Regions from separate parts of the Homo sapiens genome. Here all the other regions are linked to region 2. The links are contacts of gene promoters, found by promoter capture Hi-C in human tissues and cell types (Jung and others, 2019). All regions are on one chromosome and are shown on one strand. Each heading gives the region's core, a stretch centred on a gene start or on the middle of the fragment in contact. The rest is flanking DNA. Distances are from core to core; before and after follow the strand shown. Region 1 overlaps RAMP1 (receptor activity modifying protein 1). Region 2 holds the start of KLHL30 (kelch like family member 30). Region 3 overlaps LOC105373960 (a long non-coding RNA gene).

Region 1 (4,153 bases), core at 345-2,844, 250 kb before region 2:
TCTCTACAAAAATTTTAAAAATTAGCTGTACATGGTGTTGGACACCTGTAGACCCAGGTGCTTGGGAGGCTGAGGCGGGAGGATCACTCAAGCCTGAGAGGTCAAGGCTGCAGTGAGCCATGATGGTACCACTTGCACTCCAGCCTGGGTGATAGAACCAGACCCTACCTCAAAAAAAAAAAAAAGAAAAGAAAAGAAAAAAAAAAAAGAGGCTCCTCCTCTGCACAGGGGTCATTCCTGGGTCCCTGCCCTGGCCTGTAGGTCCACTTTTTTTTTTTTTTTTTTTTTTTTGCGCATTCAGGGTTTGTAGCCACTGCGCTTGCCCTGGGACCTTGGCTGCCCGGCATGGATCTGCACGCAGGTGCTTGCTGGGTTCCGACAGCCCTTGCCCTGACCGTGACCCCACTCCTCCGCTCATCCTGTTGCTTTGTTACCTGGTTGGTGGATTTTGTCAGGTTGTCTGTTGTGAGCAAGGCTTGGGGGTGATTCCTGAGCCCTTTCTAACACGTGTTGGGTGTCTTCCACTCAGCTACATGGAACAGGTCCCTGAAAAGTGGCTGAATGAGCTCAGCGGGGCCAGGCTCCCCTGCAAGCTGGCTGGGCCGTCATTTACCAGGGGTTATCATCTCATTAAGCTGCAGCCTTGGTTTGCTGATGGAGGCATAATGTGATTTAATGTATTAACTGGAGCTACAATCTAATTTGAGGAGGTATAGAAAACCTGGCAAATGTGTCATCGGGAACTCTCATTTCCAGAGACCTTCCTATGGGTGTAGGGGAGGGAGAGAGAAGGCAGAACAGAGAAGAGAAGAATCTGGAACGTGCTGGACTCGGCTATAAAACATGGGTTTTTAAAAGCCTCACGTCAGATTTCCTCACCTAAATAAGAAATGCTCGGTTGATTTAAGAGGGAAGGGGACACGCCTATTCCACCCCACCCTGTATGGCTTCAGGGTCTGAGTGCCATCTTGGGCAGGGGAAAGGTGTCCTCGGGGAAGATGCCAGAGGATGGGGCCACAGCCTTCCCAGCATCTGAGGTCACTGGGCCCCAGAGAACCAGACTTCACTTCCATACCAGCTGGGATGCCTCCGTCCCTCTGCCCTAAAGCTTCCAGGTTTGTAAATACTGACCATGGTAGCCTCAGGTCACCTCAGCTTTGGTTACCCGAGGCTGTCACTGCGGACCCTGCCCTGCCCTGCCGACCCCATGCTGGGCAATCATGGGCCCTCCCCCAGCCCAAGGAGCTGCTCAGAGGACGGGGCTCCAGGCCCCAGGGAGTGGGGCTGCAGCCCAGCGTGGTAGTTGGGGGACGCAAGACAAATGTCTGCAGTGCCTGCTGTGGTACGGCGGCTCAGCATGGCCAGCGCCAGGCATGACGCTCTGGGTCCACACGACGTTGGGCAGGGTGCACCAACACTTTGGGGTCCTTCCCAGCCTGCTGCATTTCCCTCCTGCTGCCTTCTTTGTGTCTCCTGCTAAAAGAGTCAAGTCAGGAAATTCTTCAGAACTCAGCAGCAACATGGGAACAGCTGCTTGTATTTTGAATTTCAGCAGGAACTGAGAGGGAGGCTTCTTCTGAAATCACGAGGGCTGTCTGGGCCAAGGGCAGGGTGTCCTCCTGGATTTCTGCTGAGCTCGACCCCCACGAGGTCTCGGGATGGGCTGTTCACAGAGCCCTGCCCGCCGCCTGCCCCTGCCCGGAGGCCTGGCCCTGGAGCCCACCCACCTCCCTGAGGCCTGTCGTGAGCATCAGGAGCTCCCAGTACAGCATCTGGGGCTGCCTCGGTGCCCTCGTGGGTTTGTTCATGGCGGTGTCCGCCCTGGAACTTGCCACATGCCCACGAGCACTGGGACCCCTCTGTGCTCTCCCTGGTGGCTGTGGTGCTGTCATCCCTGTGTGTGCTGGTGGAATAGCGTGGGCTCCACGGAAAGGCCCTCAGGCGTGGACAGGACAGATGGCAGTGCCCAGCACAGCCAGGTCTCAGAGGATCCAAAGGCGAGCATTGCCCAGGCCGAGGCCGCCCTCCCTGCCTACTGACCTCCCTGCCCACCGCCACACCATCGCTCCTGCCGTGCCCCTCTCTGTGTGTCTGCACCAGGCGTGAAGCCAGTTCTTGTGAGGAAAGCCCTGGCTAGATGTCTGTTCCCCCACCCTCTGCCCCCCCTGGGTGGGAGAATCTTTCCAGGCATCTCCAGAGCACACCCCAGGGGCACGGAAACCCGGCTGCTGACCCCTGACCTCCTGGGGCCTTCAGCACTAATGGCCAGCCCCGCGGGAGGCAGAGGAGCAGGAAGAGCCCCTGGGAGCCGGGTCCTCGAAGACTCCAGGCTATGGCTTACAGAGGAGAAGGGGGCAGAGGAGGAGAGAAGGAGGTGGCTGTGCCAGGAAAGACATGCAGCTCGCGCAGTGACACCAGTCTGGCTCCCCTGAGGACGCCACTCCTGTGGCCTGCGCAGGCATCAGCCGGGGTGCCGGGTCCCCATGGGGACGAGCTGTAGACACAGCTGTCCAGGGCTGGGCAGAGTGGGGCAGTGGCTGGGGATATGCCGGCCCTGCCCAGGCCGCCCCACGGGGGTGTCGTTCCACCTTCCTGTAGTCTCCTTGGCGCGCGTGACCGTGGTTGTGCAGGGAGCGCCTTCTGCTGGTTTTCAGCACTGGAGAAATAAACCAGGGCTCAGAGTCCTTGGCAGCCGCCCCTGGAATGTGTTCAGGTCAGGGGTTGCCTCACTTAACGTGCGCGCCATGGTGGGTTCTGATGAGGATCCCCAGAGGATCTGATGACACCTGCCTGCTGGGCTGGGGGGCTCTGGAATGGGGAGGAGGAGCCCCATTTCCCTTCTCAGAAAGCTCCAGGAGAAATGCATCTGTGAGGACCCACAGAGAGGAGCCCTCGTGTTGGGGGAGCTTGGAGGCTGGGGCTGGAGCGGGCGACTGCTGGCCTCACCCCTCCACACCCAGGGACCACCTTGTCATCCTCAGCACATCTTTTTCGGAAGTCTTCTGGCCCTGGGGGAAGGCACAGATGGAGAGACCTTCCCCAGACCCTGTGGTGACTTAGCGCGGAGCGTGGCACTGAGCCCACCATGGCGTCTTTCCCATCAGGTGATTAACTGCCTGGTTTCACATCCTCCTGAGTATGGGGATGAAATCAGGCCTGTGCGTCAACGCGAAAGGTCAGACATGCGGTGACGCTAACCAGATCCCGGCAGTGAGTGAAAGGGTGGGCAGGTGGAACACGTCTGGTGGCGGGGGCTCGTCGTAGCTCAGCATCCACCCCCGCCTCCCCTGTGGACACTCGACTACAGCAGCCACACCCCCAGAAAGCCCTAGAACCATCCAGGCTGTGCAGACGGGACTTGGCTGTCCTGGGACACAGGCCAGTTTGTGCACACAGGGCTTCACTGAGCCCCGAAGGCGGCCTCCTGGGCTGCCCATGGGGAAGGGGTGGGGGTGGGGTGGGGGAGAGAGGATGAAGATGTGCCCTTGTGTGTGACACCTCTGGCTGTGGGTCCTGTGTGGGGAGGGCAGTGGGTAGAGGACAGAGCAGATGTCCCCTCCTAATGCTGACCTTCACTCCAGCCCCCAGGCTGGGCCATGGCATCTCCCAGGATCTATCCATTCATCACTCAGATGGTAGACATCTCCCAGGCACAGGCAGGGCCAGCAGCATTCTCAGTCCCCTGTGGGAGGGCCTCCAGGGAGCAGTGGCACCTCACAGCCTTCCCTGTGCATAGTTCGAGGACACCGAGTATCTTGCGGGACCTAAGCACAGGGTGCCCTTTGGGATGCGTCTTGGGACAGGCCTTGGGTCTGAGTCCACTCTTGTTTCAGCTTCTTGTCTCAATCAAAAAATGGAGAATGCACTTTCTGAAAAAGAGACTGAGTTTACCCTCACTGCCCAGGCAGTGGAGGCCGCCTCACTCTAGGGCAGGCCACACTGGCACGCTGTGGTTCCCTACTCCTGCTCGAGTTAAAGCCATTTCCTGGTTTTTGCTATTATAAATGATGGAGCTGGGCACAGTGGCTCACACCTGCAATCCCAGCACTTTGGGAGACCAAGGCATGTGGATCACTTGAGCCCAGGAGTTCGAGACCAGCCTGGGCAACATGGCGAAACCAGGTATCTACAAAAAATGTAAACATTAGCTGAG
Region 2 (4,099 bases), core at 143-2,642:
GCTGGGCTATGGCTGGGCTATGGCTGGGCAATAGCTGAGCTGGACTGGGCTATGGCTGGGCTATGGTTGGGCAATAGCTGAGCTGGACTGGGCTATGGCTGGGCTATGGTTGGGCAATAGCTGAGCTGGGCTGGGCTATGGCTGGGCTATGGTTGGGCAATAGCTGAGCTGGGCTGAGCTATGGCTGGGCTATGGCTGGGCCAGGCTGGGCTGTAGAGGAAGCATGGACTCAGGGAATCTCTATGGAAGGTAACCCTAAGGGCACCTTGCAGACTTGGCAGTAATTTGTAGGTGAGCTTCCCCTCCATAGGCTGTGTGCATCTCAGGACCAGGAGTGGGGTTCTGTCTCCCTGGGGGCCGCCTGGACCTCTCTGGTCTGTAAGAGCATTAGGACAATCCCTAGTAGCATCAAGAGGCCACAGCCAGACCCAATACTCCCCAGTTCCTCCAGGTCGCAGCACACCTGGAAATGGTCATACTGCTCAGGCCCACATGGCCGATGGGTAGAGGGCTGAGGGCTGAGGGCTTCTCTCCCATGCACCTGAAGTCCCTCAGCCACAAAGCTCTGCTCTGGTCACTGGTGTGAGAAATGTCCAGTGGCCTCTTGGGTCCCCAACTCAACCCACCTGACCTTGGTCAGGGCCTGTGGTTCTGAGCCCATTTCAGTCCCAGGCGTGAGAGCTTCCCCCTGCGACTACCGTGAACCAAGTGCTGGACGGGAGGCTGATAGTCCACTGCTGTATTTTTAGGTGACCCTGTTTCTTAGCCGTCCTGGGCAGCCCCGAGGCCAAGGCCATGGGGTAGCAGGGCAAGGAGCCCCAAGATCTCCCCTATCCACGCTAGCTGGGCGGGGCAACTGAGTGTGGCACCTCCCCTCTCTGGGCAAAGTTTCCCTACCGCCACCATGGACCCCAAGCTCGGAAAGCCTCTGCTGACCAACCTGTGCTTATTCATGATAATCACGTTTTCCCACGTGACAACAGAACAAGAGGACACATAGGTGCCGCTGACATCAACAGCGAGGGCAGCACCTGTCGGTGTCCTGGCCCTGGGCTGAGGGTCTCTGTGACCCCAGGCCCCCACCACGGGCTCCACTGTACTCAACTTGTAGACGAGGAAACAGGTGGGGAAGCTGCATCCCTGCCCCCACCAGCCAGCCCAACCGCGACAGCTTTCACCTGTCCTTGCCCTGGAGCCCTTCCTGATGTCTGTCCTAGGCCACAAGTCCCTGGAAGGCCTCAGTGGGCTTTCTGAGCTAACAGTCACCAAGGAGCCGGCATCTCACTCCTTCCCCCACCAGCCCAGCCCTCACTGCCTGACCCTCCCCTCGCCCTGCAGACAGAGGCTAAAAATACCCTCCCCACGTGGCCACCAGACCAGCCCTGCCCCGCCCTGCAGGCCTCCGTGTCCCCTGGCTGCCGGCTAGGCAGTCCTGCTCTCTCGGGTCTGTGTTCTCAGCTTCGAGGTCCAGGCTGAGTGAGAGGTAGGATCCAGGGGGCTCTGGGGCAGGGGACAGCAGAGAGGGCAGGGGGAACCCAGCCAGGAGCAGCGGGGAGGGTGGGTTAGGCCCCCGAGGCCAGGGATCACAGCAGGGTGCTTTGGAGACGCCCCCTGGCCCTTGCCAGCGGCCAAGCCAGGCTCCTCAGGGTGGGGGCTCAGGAGACAGGTTTCCCTCCATGTCCCAGCCGGAGAGGTGGGAGGGGGAGGCTGGGCCACCCCTCAGATGGCAGCCAGGGCCACTCAGCCACAGTCGCCAGCCTGGCTGGGCTCAGGCCTTTTGTTGTCCTGCCCACTCGGCTTCCTCACTCCGGGCCTGGGCAGGCACTGGGGTGAGGCTCTGAGACCCTCAGGAAGCCCCGACCCATGCAGGGACTGCAGGGTGACAGGTGTCAGCAGGCACCCCGAGGCCCCCAGGGGAAGTGGGGGCGCTCATGCGTGCCTGCCCATCGCCCGGCAGCAGCTGGCCCAAGGGAGCACAACAATGACGGGAATGTGAGGCCTGCAGGCGGTGGCCCAGGGACAGCCCTGTCACCTACTCAGGCCCCAGCTCATCTCCCGGCTGCCCAGGGAGGGCAGAGCCGCCTTCACCGGGGCCAGCGCCTCCTGGGGAGGGGCCAGGCAGGAACCCCATGCATGCAGTGTTGGGTGGGTACTTCGTGTACCGGCCGGGATGCTGGGGTGTGGGGCCCCGGCCACGTGAGCTGCCCTGTGCGCGAGCCCGGGTTGGTCCGCGAGGCCCTGTGGGCTCCCAGGTGCTTCCCCGCTCTGGGGTCAAGAGGTGGCACCGGGGTCGGGAAGTCGGGGAGCCCTAGCTCCCATCGCCTGCACCTGTACCTGCACCGTGGCTGCCCGGGCCAGATTCTTGGCCTCCTGGTTCTCCAGCTGAGCTTTGTCATTTCCATGCGTGGCGTTCCCACGCATTTTGTACCTGTGGACGCGCGGCCGCCTCTCCTGCCCGGGATGGCCCCGCGAGGCGCCCCCTAGCGGGCGAACGGCCTCTCCGCTGCGCAGCCTTTCGCCCTGGGGTGACCCGGGTCGAAGGCTTGTGCACAGACTTGATCTCTCCTAGGGATGGTTGTCTTAGGGTGCGATACCAGAAGGACATAAACCACATGCACATAATTACATGAGCCTGAAAGCGGCCTTGCTGACTTCAACCATGCGGGCGTGGTGACGCGAAACCCTCCAGAACGCTGCCTTTGGCTGGCCGTTTCTGTTTAGCAGCCTCCACCCGGCCACGTGGAATGCAGGGTTCAGAGCCTGGGCCCCCAAGCCTAGCTCTGAGTTCAAATTCCAGCTCCACCACTTCCTAAATGTGTGATCTTGGGCAAGTGACTGAAACCTTCTGTGCCTCAGTCTCCCCAGCTGTAAAAGAGGCAATGATTGCACCCACCCTCCAGGACTGTTGTGGGGCTGAGTGGTGAATGCACAGCTTCTCTGCATGCTTGGCACGTGGCCTGGCACCTGGGAGCACCGCGGGAGCAGGAGCTGCTGCAGCCCCCAAATGGCCTCCCCAGCAATGTGGGATCTGGGACGGAGGACGCCTCCCGGGAGTTTGGGTGTCTCCGGGGTCCCTGGGGGGTGGGCTCAGTGTAGCCCAGGGTTGCAGATGACACCCAGGGCATGGGTTCTTTTGCCAACCCTGTTCTGCCCTGAATGCCTGGCCATGGGTAGGTCTCCCACCCTCTCTGAACCTCAATTTCCTCACTGCAAATGGGAATGACACCTGCCCTACCTTGCAGGGTTCTGGGGGTGGCTTGAGGCAGATGGGGGGTAAAGTGACTGGCATATGGTCGATGCCCATCCTGTGTTTATCAAGGGGTGGAAAGGGCTGATGGACAGACCGGGTGGGTTGCTCAGGAGGATGAGACCATCCCCACTTGGCTGACCCTGCTCTCTTCTCTCCTAGGAGCTCGGGCGGCTCCAGGCACTTCTTCCCTTGAGTGGGTGGACTACTGAGGTCCCCTGGGCACGGCGTCATGGTGCGGAACGTGGATGACCTGGATTTCCACCTGCCCTCGCATGCCCAGGACATGCTGGATGGCCTGCAGCGCCTGCGCTCTCAGCCCAAGCTGGCCGACGTCACACTGCTGGTGGGCGGCCGGGAGCTGCCATGCCACCGCGGCCTCCTGGCGCTCAGCAGCCCCTACTTCCATGCCATGTTTGCGGGTGACTTCGCCGAGAGCTTCTCTGCGCGCGTGGAGCTGCGGGACGTGGAGCCCGCCGTGGTGGGACAACTGGTGGACTTCGTGTACACAGGCCGGCTGACCATCACGCAGGGCAACGTGGAGGCGCTGACACGCACGGCTGCGCGCCTGCACTTCCCCTCGGTGCAGAAGGTCTGCGGCCGCTACCTGCAGCAGCAACTGGATGCCGCCAACTGCCTGGGCATCTGTGAGTTCGGGGAGCAGCAAGGGCTGCTGGGCGTGGCTGCCAAGGCCTGGGCCTTCCTGCGAGAGAACTTTGAGGCTGTGGCACGTGAGGACGAGTTCCTGCAGCTTCCCCGAGAGCGGCTGGTCACTTGTCTGGCCGGCGACCTGCTGCAGGTACAGCCGGAGCAAAGCCGACTCGAGGCCCTGATGCGCTGGGTGCGCCATGA
Region 3 (4,784 bases), core at 1,596-4,095, 210 kb before region 2:
TGGGTTTCGGCAGGAGCCTTCCAGGTTCTGGGGTGTAATTGACAGGGACTTGGCTTTGTCACCACAGAAAGTGAGAGTCGATAGCTTCAGCTGTGCATGAATTGAGACCATCTTGACCTTGAACCGAGGCTTTTTCTAGAAGATCATTTGAATGTTTTTTCCTGGGCGGGTGAGGCAGGGAACCACGCATCCACCAGTACAAAACACAATCACGAACTAACAAGCACAGCGCAGATCTGTAAATACTGATGTGGAATTAACCCCACAAAATTCTGTTAGGTGAAAGGAACATAAAAATAATCGAATTTGTCCACTGAAATTTTCTAGCAGGTCAAACGAGAAACAACATTGGTTGACTCAGAGGAAAGTTACTGGGGTACTGGTTAGGAAGGAAATTTGTGTATCCTCTTTTTTTGTTGTTTTTGCTGAGATGGGGTCTCCCTCTGTTGCCCAGGCTGGAGTGCACTGGCACAATCTCAGCTCACTGCAACCTCTGCCTCCTGGGTTCAGGTGATTCTTGTGCCTCAGCCTTCTGAGTAGCTGGAATTACAGGTGCATACCACCATGCCCATCTAATTTTTGTTTTTGTGTGTTTTTTTTTTTTTTTTTTTTTTTTGAGACGGAGTCTCACTCTGTCGCCCAGGCTGGAGTGCAGTGGCATTATCTTGGCTCATTGCAAGCTCCGCCTCCCAGGTTCATGCCATTCTCCTGCCTCAGCCTCCCAAGTAGCTGGGACTACAGGTGCCTGTCACCACGCCCAGCTAATTTTTTTCCATTTTTTAGTAGAGACGAGGTTTCACCGTGTTAGCCAGGATGGTCACGATCTCCTGACCTCGTGATCTGCCCTCCTCGGCCTCCCAAAGTGCTGGGATTACAGGCGTGAGCCACCACGCCCCGCCTTTAATTTTTGTATTTTTTAGTAAAGACAGGGTTTTGCCATGTTGGCCAGGCTGGTCTCAAGCTCTTGGCCTCAAGTGACCCACCCACCTTGGCCTCCCAAAAGTGTTGGGATTATAGGCATGAACCACCATGCCCGGCCACGTTACGATTTTTAAAGTCTAACCTAACCAAACTGTCAGAAACTTAAAATGACAACACTTTCATTCCAATTAATTGTACTAGAATGTTCCAAGCAAATATCCCCTTCCTTCCCCAGGCCAGGGCCCAGCCATGCCTCCCACTCCTCCAGGCTGCTGGGCTAGTTGCTGGGTCCTGGGGTGGCCCACAGGGACTTTGCCTACTGTAATTTCCACCAGCACCCCCAAGCCACCCCAGCTAAACACACAATTGAAGTACAAATAGCATGTTCACCATCTGAAGACGAGTCACCTATTTTCTGCTTCCAACTGGACTGTGTTCTCAAGACCCCCTGCATTCATTTATATCGCTGGGTAACATATTTCCCGGCTGGTGAGAAGTCCCGGCGTGGCCCAGCTATGTCCTCTGAGATGGCAGGGTCTCATGAGGCTGTCACCAGGTGTCCGCTGGGTCACATCCTCCTCTTGCAGATGCAGGAGGCAGACACATGCCTAGGCAGATGGGGCAGAACCCCAGTGAAACCCTACCTCCAAGACAAAGACAGTTTAAAACCTGAAAGCCAAGCTACAAGTCAAATCCACGGACCAGATTGAGAACCCGTCTTCCCGTTTGGTGCACTTTCCTCTGATTGATCCCCACCCTTCACCTATTTTACAGAAACCTACCCTACCCTAATTGGTTTTTTACACTGTCATGCCCACCTTTGAGCAGTGCCTTTGTTTTAACCTTTTTTGCATACTCACAAACCAATCAGCACACACTCCCCATTCTGAGCCTATAAAATCCCAGACCCAGCCACACTGAAGGAGAGACCACCCAACTTAGAGTGGAGGACAACCCTTGCATCCCCTCTCCACTGAGAACTTTTCCATCACTCAATACAGTTATTATCTGCCCTCCTCATCCTTCGATGGTCAGGGTAACCTCATTCTTCCTGGACATGAGACAAGAGTTCAGGAACCACCAAATGTGGGTAGGAGCTATAACACAGGCAGGCTGGGGCACACATGGCCCAGCTACGGGCTGAGCTGGTGCACAAGCTCAGTGCAGCCCAGTGGACTGAATGGGTGGGGCATGTGACCAAGGGGCCCTGGCTTTTGCTGGCCTCTGACTGAAGGTCCCCCTCAGGTCCTTGTTAGTGGTTTTTTGTTAGGTGAACTTATAACATAACACGGTCCTTATTTCATCAAGCCAGGAAGGAGAATCTCCAATGTGTGCTGGTAAGATGGAGGCTTGTCTAGGTATCTATAGTAACTCAGTCATGGGAGTGACATCCTGTCACCTGTGCTATATTCTACTGGTTATAAGCAAGTCACAGGTCCCACTCACACTCAAGAGGAAGGGATTATATAGGGCATGAACCCTAGGGTCTTTCTGCCATACCCTCCCACAGGGAGATTTTTGAGCTGGCACTGGCAGGGCCCTGGGGAGGAGTTATGGGATGCTACACTGCCAGGAGCAGAGGAACTGTGCAGGGTTTGTGCCCTCACAGGCACTCAGATTCACAGTGACTGGCCCAGAAAGACGAAAGGCATTTAACATGGTAAAGCCACAGGGCTGTACCTAATGGGACCTTTTGCCATGTGCCATTATGTGTGATGTTAACGGTGGCCCTGAGTTGTGCAGCGCACACCTGCGCAACTGTTTGCAGCAGCCCGGACCCCCACCTGTGGATGAGAGGCTTCTTCAGAGCACTGCCTCGCTGATGATCATTATCTGGTCGGACTCCAGTTCCACCAACAGACCATATGTCTGTGCAGCTGAGTTTACTTTACACTACATCCTCTTTTCCAGCTATTCTGTGACTTCTCAGTTCCTCAAACACACCCGAAGCTTGAAATATTTTCTCTGGAACTTTTGGCTCTGGTTTTACCCTCTGCAATTCAAAACTCACAGCCTCTCAGAGTTTGTTTATTTTCTTACACTGCTGGGTGAGTCTCTAGAAACGAAATATCAAAGCCAGCTGGAGTCTCAAATGAGAATCCTGATTATTCCAGAGCAATGATTGTCACAGTTGTCATGTAAGTGGGGGCAGCCCACCCCCCACAATGCATTGCAGTGGCAGTGCCACAGTTACAGGTTAGGCACATGCTCCAAACAGTTCTATTCATCCCCAGGCATCCTTGGCACAGCTCAAGACTGTTTTTCAATTAACAATAAACGTAGAAGGTGCCGGCCGGGTGCGGTGGCTCATGCTGTATTCCCAGCACTTTGGGAGGCTGAGGTGGGCAGACCATCTGAGGTCAGGAGTTTGAGACCAGCCTGGCCAACATGGCGAAACCCCGTCTCTTCTAAAAATACAACAATTAGCCAGGTGTGGTGGCACGCACCTGTAGTCCTAGCTACTCGGGAGGCTGAGACAGGAGAATCGCTTGAACCCAGGAGGCAGAGGTTGCAGTGAGCCAAGATTGTGCCACTGCACTCCAGCATGGGCAACAGAGCGAGACTCTATCTCAAAAACATAAATAAATAAATAAACAAACAAACATAGAAGGTGCAGAATTTTAGAACAGCAATTGCTGAGCTTGTATCTGGACCCATTTACAGAGATAGACCATATTCTAGGCCAAGCTTATCCAATCCGCAGCCTGTGGGCCACTTGTGGCCCAAGATAGCTTTGAATGTAGCCCAACGCAAATTCATAAACTTTCTTAAAACATTATGAGACACTTTGGGAGGCTGCGGTGGGTGGACCACTTGAGGTTAGGAGTTCGAGACCAGCCTGGCCAACATGGTGAAACCCTGTCTCTACTAAAAACACAAAAATTAACTGGGCATGGTGGCGCATGCCTGTAGTCCCAGCTACTTGGGAGGCTGAGACACAAGTATCACTTGAACCCTGGAGGTGGAGTTGCAGTGAACTGAAATCATGCCACTGCACTCCAGCCTGGGTGACAGAGTGAGACTCTGTCTCAAAAATAATAATAATAATAATAATATGTTTATTGCATTTTTTTTTAGCTCATCAGCTATTGTTAGTGTTAGTGTATTTTATGTGTGGCCCAAGACAATTCTCCTTCTTCCAAATTGGCCCAGGGAAGCCAAAAGATTCGACACCCCTGTAATGCAGGTCATAAAGTCTCAAAAATGTTTTTGAAGAATGCAAGCTGTACTAAGTATGTTTTCTGACCACAGTGGAATCAAATGATAAACCAGAAACAGAAAGATCTCTGGAAAATCCCCAAGTATGTGAAACTGGATATCACACTTCTAAATAATTCATGAGTCAACCAAAAATAAAATTAGAAAATATTTTGAACTGAATAAAAATGAAAATGCAACATACCAGGCTGGGTGTGGTGGCTCATGCTTGTAATCCCAGCACTTTGGGAGGCCAAGGCGGGCAGATCACGAGGTCAGGAGTTCCAGACCAGCCTGGCCAACACAGTGAAACCCCATCTCTACTAAAAATACAAAAAATTAGCTGGACATGGTGGCAGGCATCTGTAATCCCAGCTACTCAGGAGGCAGAGGCAGGAAAATTGCTTGAACCTGGGAGGCGGAGGTTGCAGTGAGCCGAGATCATGCCACTGTACTCCAGCCTGGGTGACAGAGCGAGACTCCGTCTCAAAAAGAAAAATAAAAAAAAAGGAAATGCAACATACCTAAGTTCACAGGATGCCCTTAAAGCAGGAATCAGGGAAACGTAAAGCCTAGATTGTAAATGAAGAAGAAATGCCTGTACTTTGAACCACCTGAAGAAACTAAAGAACAAAGTGGCGTCTCAGACCGTGCATCCAAAGCCC

Evidence for each region. Contacts are between HindIII fragments. The study calls those that stand out against the background at their distance.
Region 1: a contact is called between a fragment that was not itself captured here and the fragment with the promoter of KLHL30 in region 2, in 2 of the 25 tissues and cell types used here (H1 embryonic stem cells and bladder).
Region 3: a fragment that was not itself captured here is called in contact with the fragment with the promoter of KLHL30 in region 2 in 2 of the 25 tissues and cell types used here (aorta and heart left ventricle).

What each region holds. Positions count from the first base shown.
Region 1 is chr2:237,883,646-237,887,798 of GRCh38, forward strand. The region is part of intron 2 of RAMP1 (receptor activity modifying protein 1); the gene reads left to right. Among named protein-coding and RNA genes, the nearest start is that of RAMP1, 26 kb to the left of the region's middle. The HindIII fragment of the contact is 5,036 bases long and covers 1-4,112 here.
Region 2 is chr2:238,137,276-238,141,374 of GRCh38, forward strand. It overlaps KLHL30 (kelch like family member 30), which reads left to right and starts at 1,393. Exons shown (of 8, transcript NM_198582.4): 1 at 1,393-1,483; 2 at 3,410-4,099. The coding sequence starts at 3,480. RefSeq lists an enhancer at 3,649-4,099. The HindIII fragment of the contact is 32,785 bases long and covers 1-4,099 here.
Region 3 is chr2:237,928,705-237,933,488 of GRCh38, forward strand. All of the region lies in intron 1 of LOC105373960 (a long non-coding RNA gene), which reads right to left. Among named protein-coding and RNA genes, the nearest start is that of UBE2F-SCLY, 36 kb to the right of the region's middle. RefSeq lists an enhancer at 4,608-4,777. The HindIII fragment of the contact is 4,595 bases long and covers 549-4,784 here.